Regions from separate parts of the Homo sapiens genome. Here region 2 is linked to region 1. The links are contacts of gene promoters, found by promoter capture Hi-C in human tissues and cell types (Jung and others, 2019). All regions are on one chromosome and are shown on one strand. Each heading gives the region's core, a stretch centred on a gene start or on the middle of the fragment in contact. The rest is flanking DNA. Distances are from core to core; before and after follow the strand shown.

Region 1 (4,243 bases), core at 875-3,374:
CCAGCCTGGCCAATGTGGTGAAACCCTGTCTCTACTAAACATACAAAAATTAGCTGGGTGTGGTGGCTGGCACCTGTAACCCCAGCTACTCGGGAGGCTGAGGCAGGAGAATCACTTGAATCCAGGAGGCGGAGGTTGCAATGAGCCGCGATCATGCCACTGGACTCCACCCTGGGCAACAAGAGCAAAACACCGTCTCAAAAAAAAATAAAAAATAATAAACACTAAAAACCTTTTTAATGCAGCATAAAGAAGTGTTGAGTGGAATGGATTAATTTGAAAAGATTATTTATATATAACAGGTAAACTAAATTTTGATATAAAGATATGAACTTGCTAAGCTCCAGCAAAGATTTACAATAAGAGAACATTAATGAGCAAAGTAACAAGGATGAACAACTATAAGCTGTACACTGTTACTATTTATATAACTAAAGTTAATAACAATAACATTTACTAAGTGCCAGGCACTAGACTAAGCACTTTACATTTAATTTCCACAATTCTATGAGGTAGGTACTATTGTTATCCCAATTAAACAGATGGGAGGTTAAGTAATTTTGCCAAGATGGCAACTCAGGGAAAGACAGGTGCCCAACTCTGTCCTTTGGGACCACATTCTGAGCTGTACTGAAAGAGGATGCAGCAAAACCACTAATGAGGTTATATCAAAAAAAAATGACAGAGCCAGAAATGAGCCAATGAAAACAGGTTCATATGCCACTCTTTTGACTTCTATGCCAAAGCAACGTACTTCTACTATACAGCCTGATAAAAAGTGAAGCTCTGATAGTCAAGGACAACTACAGTCAAATACCAATCTATCTCCCCAATCACTCAAACACAATGAGATGTAATTGCTTTCATATTCCACTCTGAAAAGGGGAAAAAAACTAACACTATAAAGAGTTGGAAATCCCACAAGCAAAGTGACAAGCAAACACTGAATTTACACAAATGTGTACAATCTAAAGTACAAAATATGCGTCAGCAGTGGATCAAAATAAAGCACAAAAAACTCGCGAAACAACGAAAGAACCAGACTGTAAGACAAAAATGGCATACAATGAAAAGAGAAAAAAATGAAAAGAAACAAAGAGGCCACATTGTGGACACAATATCGTAACTTCTGACCAGATTATAAACTTTTAAAATTTTGCTTTTATTAAAAATTAATTGAAAAAAATTTATAAAGCATGTTTCTATGCAAGAATTACTCTCAAGAACACAACGATTACGTAAAAAATAGGCAAGAAACAACATACTGTTTCAAAATACAAATATATGTAGTAACTATAAAGAAAAGTAGTGAAATTATAAATACAAAACTTAGATAATGTTTGCTTCTTAAGGTTTCCTGAAAGTTCAAAGAAGGTAACACAGGGCTTTCAAAGGCTATGTTTTATTTCTTAAAACTACAAAATGGGTAAACGAGAATTCCTGAAACTGTTCATCTTTACACTTGAAATGTGCTTTAGTAACACTCTTTTGTATCTACTCAGTTTTTAATAAAAACAACAAAACTGCTTCAGTGCCCTGGAGCGAATGGGGGCGTAACGGCAGGATTCAGGGCACTAACGAGAGGTGAACGGACGCCGAGGAAGAGGCGACTAAGCCCACATACTGAGTCTACCCAGGCCAGAGAGGCAGAGGTGTGTAGGGCCAGCGATCTCAGAAGTTTTGCCAAACTCCTCGATGCGTTACAATGGAAAGGTGCCGGGTTTCCCCCAGGAAGTAGTGACTAGCGAGAAGTTAGGCACAAGGCAAAGAGGAGCAAGGCGACGTGTGAGCACTTCAGCACTCGGACGCGGAACTCTAAGGTCCAGGCGTTGGGCCTGGGACTCGCCTCCCAGAGGCTTCGCCCCGCACCCCGCACACTCCCTGAAAATAAACACTTTGCATCCTCCCCTCTCCTAGGTTCCCGAAACCGCACCCTCCCTCTCTGCCTGCTCAACAAGAGCCTTCCGGGGAACCAACCGAGCGGTTCGGGGGAGCAGGAGGGGGCCCACCATGGTGACGTCCTCGTGGCCACGGAGCAGCTCCGCACTCTAGACCCAGGTAATCTCACCAACCGCAGGAGCAGCAGCTCACAAGAGCACCCGGGCCGAATCCCACGTGGCGCCTGAGAAGCCCGCGCCGACCCAACCGGAACAGGAGAGGCGAGTGCGTTTCTCTAAAGCGTCCCCGTTAACTGAGACCGCGTCTTTTTCGCCCGTGTTGGGCTTTTAAGCTCTAGCCCAACGGACAGCCAGACCTGCGTGCTCGCCGGGAGCGGCGGAAGGGAGCTTGCGGCGGGAGGCTGAACTCTGCCTGGTGCTGAGTGCGAGGCTGGGGATTGGAGCCCGGGTGGAGACGCTACACGCTTCCGGCCCCAAGAGCGGAGCTTGCCCATCTGTCCCAGAGCACGACTCCAGAGCGCAGCAACCTCTTCAGACAAGAGGTTCCCTCTTGCGGGCTCCCGCATCTCAGGGGCTGGGACCCTCTCAAAAGGGCCGCTCGGTGTTGGCTCCCCGGAGCTCTTGCACGGCACAGGCTCCTGCCCTCCGCTTTTCCACGTACTAGATTACCTTGGGCAAGTCCTTTCCTGCACTGAGTCTTTTTTTGCCCTGCCCTGCCCTGCCCTGCCCTGCCCCGCCCCGCCCCTCTTCTCTTTCCTTTCTTTTCTTTTCTTCTTTCCCTCTTTCCCGCCTTCCCTCATTCCCTCTTTCTTTCTTCCTCCCGGGTTCAAGCGATTCTCCTGCCTCAGCCTCCCGAACAGCTGGAATTACAGGCCTCCGCCACCACGCCCGGCTAATTTTTTTTTTTTTTTTTTTTTTTTGTATTTTTAGTAGAGACGGGGTTTCGCCGTGTTGGCCAGGCTGGTCTCGAACTCCTGATCTCAGGTGATCCGTCCGCCTCGGCCTCCCAAAGTGCTGAGATTACAGGCCTGAGCCACCACGCCCGGCCGAGTCTTAGTTTCTTTATCCGGAAAGGCCACTTCCTCATATTCAAGGCCTCTGCCAACCCAGTTTTTGTTTTCTTCTCACAGCATGTGAGAGTCTTTGTTTCACCCATACATGTTAGAATTCCGTAGACAATGTAATCATTCAAAAACTATTTATTGAATGCCTACTGTGTGCCTGGTACTGGGGATACTCCAACAATATCCCTCACTCAGCTCATTTTCCAGGGGATGGAGGCATGTAAAAATATTATTTCAAATAATATAAGTACTCTAATAAAAATTAGCTGGCGGGGGCATGTAGAAAAGCTGTTTTACACATGGTGGTCTCTATAAAGTCCTCTTTTAGAAGTGATAATTGAGCAGAGACCGGAATTGTAAGAGAAAACTAGGCATGGGAAGAAGCTCCAGGCAGGGTGAAGCTGGTGTGCCTTGATATGTGTGTGCAGCTGTTAACAGTTGAGGGTAGTTGGCTAGGTCCTTGGCGTTTTGAACAAATAATTGGACAAAACACACAAATAAAGCAAGGCAGCGAAAGCAGAGATTTATTTTAAATGAAAGTACACTACTCCACTGCGTGGAAGCAGGCTGTGGCAAGCTGCTCAAAAGCACAGGTTGCAGAATTTTCTGGGGTTTAAATACCTTCTAGAGGTTTCCCATTGGTCTTCCACAAGTCTGATTGGTTGAGGAAGGGGACCAATCTGAGGCACTTTCATTTTTCAACTGCCACACAGAAAAAGAAGGGCTTGCAACTGCCAGGCAGCAACTGCCATGCAGAAAAAGGAGGGGTTGAAGGGGAGTAGTCTTTCAACTGATATCCCATCAGCACAAATCAGTCCTAGCTTCCCTGCTTCCAGACCCTATTCTCCTGCCGCACAAATACTTGTATTTAATCGACAGATATATCAATTTTTGGAAATAATTTAAATTGTAAACAAGAGTGTGTCCAGAAGATTCCTGAATCTAGGGGCAAGGTATTTTCACATGGCTTTTTTTGTGTGTGAATCTATGCAATGAAGGTCACCTTTGAATATATACTGTGGAGGCAGCACATTCATGCATCACTTAAGGACGGGGATACTTTCTGAGAAATATTTCAATGGGGGTTTTGTTGTTTGTTTTTTGTCATGTGAATATCATAGAGCACACTTACACAAGCCTGCATGGTATAGCTTACTACCCACCTAAGCTGTATGGTATAGCCCATTGCTCCTAGGCCACAAACCTGTACAGCATGTTACTCTACTGAATACTGTAGGCAATTGTAACACAATGGTAAGTACTTGTGTATCTAAACATAAG
Region 2 (4,243 bases), core at 517-3,016, 380 kb after region 1:
TTTGTGATAGTTTTTTGAGCTGTACACTTATATTCTGGAACTATCTATATATGTATTATTTCTCAAAACCAAAAGGATTAAAAGGAACCCTGAAGTGCTTGCCATCTAACTGGGAAACAAAAGACAAGATTCTTAAATGGCTGACAAGTCTCTAAATAATCTGGCCTCCTACTAATGGTTTGATGTCTCAATTTTTCTTCTTGTCTCCCTTTGCTCCTGCATCTACACATATAGAGTTGAACGTGATCGGAGAAAACCCAACACTCATGCTGTCTGGTATCACTTGAGATTCATAACTACCAAACCTAAAAGGGAGCCTTAAAGCTGCAATATTTTTTTCCTAGTCCATTCACTTGTCACTCACCAAGGTGACAATTTCATAACTCTCCTCTACAACCTTCAAGCCTTCTGTTCCCTGATTTCACTATCCCTCCTCAGTAGCAGTTTTGTTTTCCTCTTTGTACTGAGAAAATGGAAACAGTTTTATTGGGTGGACATAGAGCTGTATCATCCACATCCCTCTTCACAAAAAGAGCCTTATACCCCAGCTGCTGGGGTTAGCAGATATCTTCCAGCATTCAGCAACTATAAAGTCCATCTCACTTATGGAGAGCCCTAAGTGCACCTTTCTAGGGGGAGCCCAAATCCAATGTCCATTTCCAGAAGGAGTGGTTGAGGGCAGCATAAAGGCTGGAGGAACAAATCCAGAGCTCTCTTTGGGTTGGTTAAGCTTTGCCAAGCATGTACTGCAGTTTGAATTTCTCCTCCATCCATGTGTTTCCTCTCTCTCCCTTCCCTAAGTGTTGATCCCTAACACATGTTCAGTATTCCAATTTCCATCTCAGTATTTGCTTCCAGTGAATCCAACCTGTGATAGCTCAAATACATTCAGATTTCCATCACCATGTTCACCTACCAACCTACTTTTTTCCTCAATATTCTATGACTGCCTTCTTTACAGAGTACTTTTACTTAAAGCTAATCACTTTATTTGTGTACTGTCTTTGCTTACTGAGAGAGAGAACTCTAGCAATTTTTCTCCCCCCCCAATCATTTTTTCCATTTTGTAAAATCGCTATTATCTCTCTCATCTTATTTTTTTTATCCTTGCTTTGGCCCATTTCACCAGCTACTGAGCTGTTCTGCTTTCTTTTGCAAAATTATTAATAATCTCAGACTCCCAATTCCTCTTCTCCCATTTCCTCTGTAGCTTATTCTAATCAGGCTTCCCCCTCCATTAGTGGAAACTGCCCTTTTCAAAGTCATCAATGGCTTTTACAGTGCAAACTATGATGGTCTGACCTCAGTCTTCATCATACTTAACGTTTTTTGCGTGATTGATAAAATTTTCTACTCCTTAAAATGTTTCCCACTTGGCTTCCAGGACATCAAACTCTTTTACTTTTTTCTCCTCCTAGTTCACGGCTCACTCTCAGATGGGCCACCTAGTGCACAATTCGAAGAAATGCCATTTACCTAGAACAAAACACTAGCGGTGGCTCTACTTTCTCAGTCCCCTTTTCTAATTGATTCTCTTTTCCCTGTCTCTTAAGGTAGGAGGGTCACAGAGTTCATGCTTGATCCATTTATGTTTTTTATGTACACATTTCTCTTCCAGACACTTGGACTCAGAAATGCACAAACTCCCTGACATCTTTATTTAAATGACTAATAGGTATGTTAACGTCCAAAATGAATTCTAAATTCACCCCAAACTTGCGCCACTGGACATTTCTGCTCCCTCAGTTTATGACAACTCCATCCTTCCAGTTGATCAAGCTCATTCTATTTCATTTTATTTTGTGTTTCAAAACAAAATAGAAGAACAATAAGGATTGTATATTACTTTTACTTTATGCTCAGAGATGGGGAGGGAATAATGGTGGTTAAAGAATTAACCTGCTTTCCAATTTTCTAGGGATAGCACTCTGAATTTAAATGTTTCAAATGGGTTGACAACTACCAAAGACATTTTCCCACTACTTCCTCCCTCTCCTCTGGTATTCAATTACTTCCTAACTTGACTCATATTCACCTATTTTTTTAACACCAAATCAGTCCTTCAGCTTTGTATCTAGAAGTATATATTCAACACTTGTCACTTCTGAAAAAAACAAAAGGTAGTTATGCAATAGTTGAAGTTATGTCCAGAAATCTACAAAAAAGTTTTTTTGCGAGATATAAATTAGTAAGGAGTTTTCTGAGGAACCTTCAAAAAGCAATTTTTGGGGTTTACCTTTTTTAAAATGTTTCCGGTGTTTAATATGTGAAAAGGAATACAATTTCTAGTTATTATAGAGGGAGAAACAAAACTCAAGCAGCTCTATCTCAGTTTTGATGTAGGCCTTAATCCATTTTTAAAAAATATAAATAAATCCCTAGAGATTACAGTTCCAGGTTCCTAAGACTAAATATGTAAATAACTACGCTACAAAGTGCTAGAGCTCATCAATTTTGAGTTAAAAAAATCCATAGTAGAATTTAACTTGATGGAAACAAAAATAGGAAAACCAAAAACAAAACTGAAAGCTTAAAATCTGTCTCTAGTTCCTGTCCTCTTTCAGTGGAAATGTATTGAAGCAAATAAACATCACTTTTGCTTGACCTTAGATTTCCAGATCAGTAAGAGAATATGCAAAATTCATTTACAAGTTAACTTTCAAAGTTAAGATGATGATACAGTAGCTCCCCCTGAGCCTTGGGGGATATGTTCCAAGACCAGCGGATGCCTGAAATCACAAATAGTAGCGAACCCTATATATACCATGATTTTTCCTATACTTACATACCTATGATAAAGATTAATTTAGGAAATAGGCACAGTAAGAGATTAACAACAACTAATAATACAATAGGACAATTATAACAATATTTTGTAGTAACAGTTATGTGAATGTATTCTTTCTCTCTCAAAATATCTGATTTTACCTCACCTATTTTCAGACCATGGTTGACTGAAGGTAACTGAAACCACGAAAAGTGACAGCACAGATGAGGGGAGAGTACTGTATCCTCAAATGATGGTATGGCTGGTGATGGTAACAGCAAGTCTACCAGCCTAGTCAAGCATTCTTATCCATAGAAGAGTTGCCATGGGAACCTCATGGCAACCCACAGATTTCAAGTACTGTATGTTCTGCCTAAATAAATAATGAAAAGCTATCTTACTGAATGTTCTCCATATCTGCATACTTAATAGGGCAGGATGCTACCTCACATATCATTTGCAGTAAACAAAGGTAAAAATGAGAGACATACAAAAGTAAGATAAGGATTACATATCTGCATTTTAAAAGCACATTCCGTGTTAACTAATTATGTTTTCATTTCATTCTGGATCAGAAGATCAGACACACATCATTGCTTATTCAGACCTCACCTGATCCTATTTATAGGCCCCTCTCAAACTCACTGAAGATGACAGTAATCTCTATATCTATGCAGAGTGTGAGGTAATTCTAGGAGACACCTTTCTGTGCAAAATGTCAGGTGTTAGCTCCCCATGGAGCACTCTCTCCTTGCCACTTGGGGACCTCACAGAAACAAGTCATAGCATTCTTTTTTTAGGCTGTGAGGTAGGGTTAGATCATCCTCACTTTTCTGTTACCACTTGTGTTCTTTCTGTATGTGCTTTTTAAATTCACTAACTAATAGAAAAATGCTTTGAATACATTATTAACCTCACAAGAGGATTTTTTTTCTTCCTAGACATTGAAATATTTTAGACACTAGAAAATAAAGGATTTTTAATAAATGGAGTGTAACTACTCAAAACTTTTTTCTTCTTTCCCCAAAGTGAATAAATAACAATTGTAGGCTAATGTTTCAGATTAGCATAGGTAGATAATATTAGTTTTTAATCATGAAATTATTTTAAGTGCATCATTTGAGAGAATTTATGGTATAAATTCTCTATAAATTTTATATTTGATAAGAAATACGAAGATAGAAGCTAATGAAGAGGGAGAAGAACTAAGTATTCTTGAGTTGTTTGTGAAAGTAGTAATTTAATCGAAGTTGTATTCACTTAGCCCCTCCAAGATTAAGTTTCCATGTGAAAAAAAAAAAAAAAAGGGTGAAAAGGAGAGCACCAAAACCTTACATGACTGGAGATGATTTAATAAAAAGCTTGTTTCTGCTCCTCACTGAAATGCCTTGGAATATGATAAGTACAGTCAGAAAGTTTTTAATATTTACTCTCAACATACAGTAAAGATTTAGGAAGAGAAAGGACGGAATAGGG

The links. Contacts are between HindIII fragments. The study calls those that stand out against the background at their distance.
Region 2: a contact is called between a fragment that was not itself captured here and the fragment with the promoter of TMA16 in region 1, in 1 of the 25 tissues and cell types used here (mesenchymal stem cells).

The regions. Positions count from the first base shown.
Region 1 is chr4:163,492,571-163,496,813 of GRCh38, reverse strand. It overlaps TMA16 (translation machinery associated 16 homolog), which reads right to left and starts at 2,124. Exons shown (of 7, transcript NM_018352.3): 1 at 2,010-2,124. The coding sequence starts at 2,012. It overlaps LOC124900805 (a long non-coding RNA gene), which reads left to right and starts at 1,590. Exons shown (of 2, transcript XR_007058354.1): 1 at 1,590-1,652; 2 at 1,918-4,243. RefSeq lists enhancers at 1,548-1,697, 1,728-1,867, 1,331-2,233 and a cis regulatory region at 3,515-3,786. The HindIII fragment of the contact is 18,907 bases long and covers 1-4,243 here.
Region 2 is chr4:163,108,991-163,113,233 of GRCh38, reverse strand. LOC101928081 (a long non-coding RNA gene) reads right to left here and starts at 3,019. Exons shown (of 3, transcript XR_244745.4): 1 at 2,934-3,019. It also overlaps a transcript of NAF1 not described here. The HindIII fragment of the contact is 3,127 bases long and covers 203-3,329 here.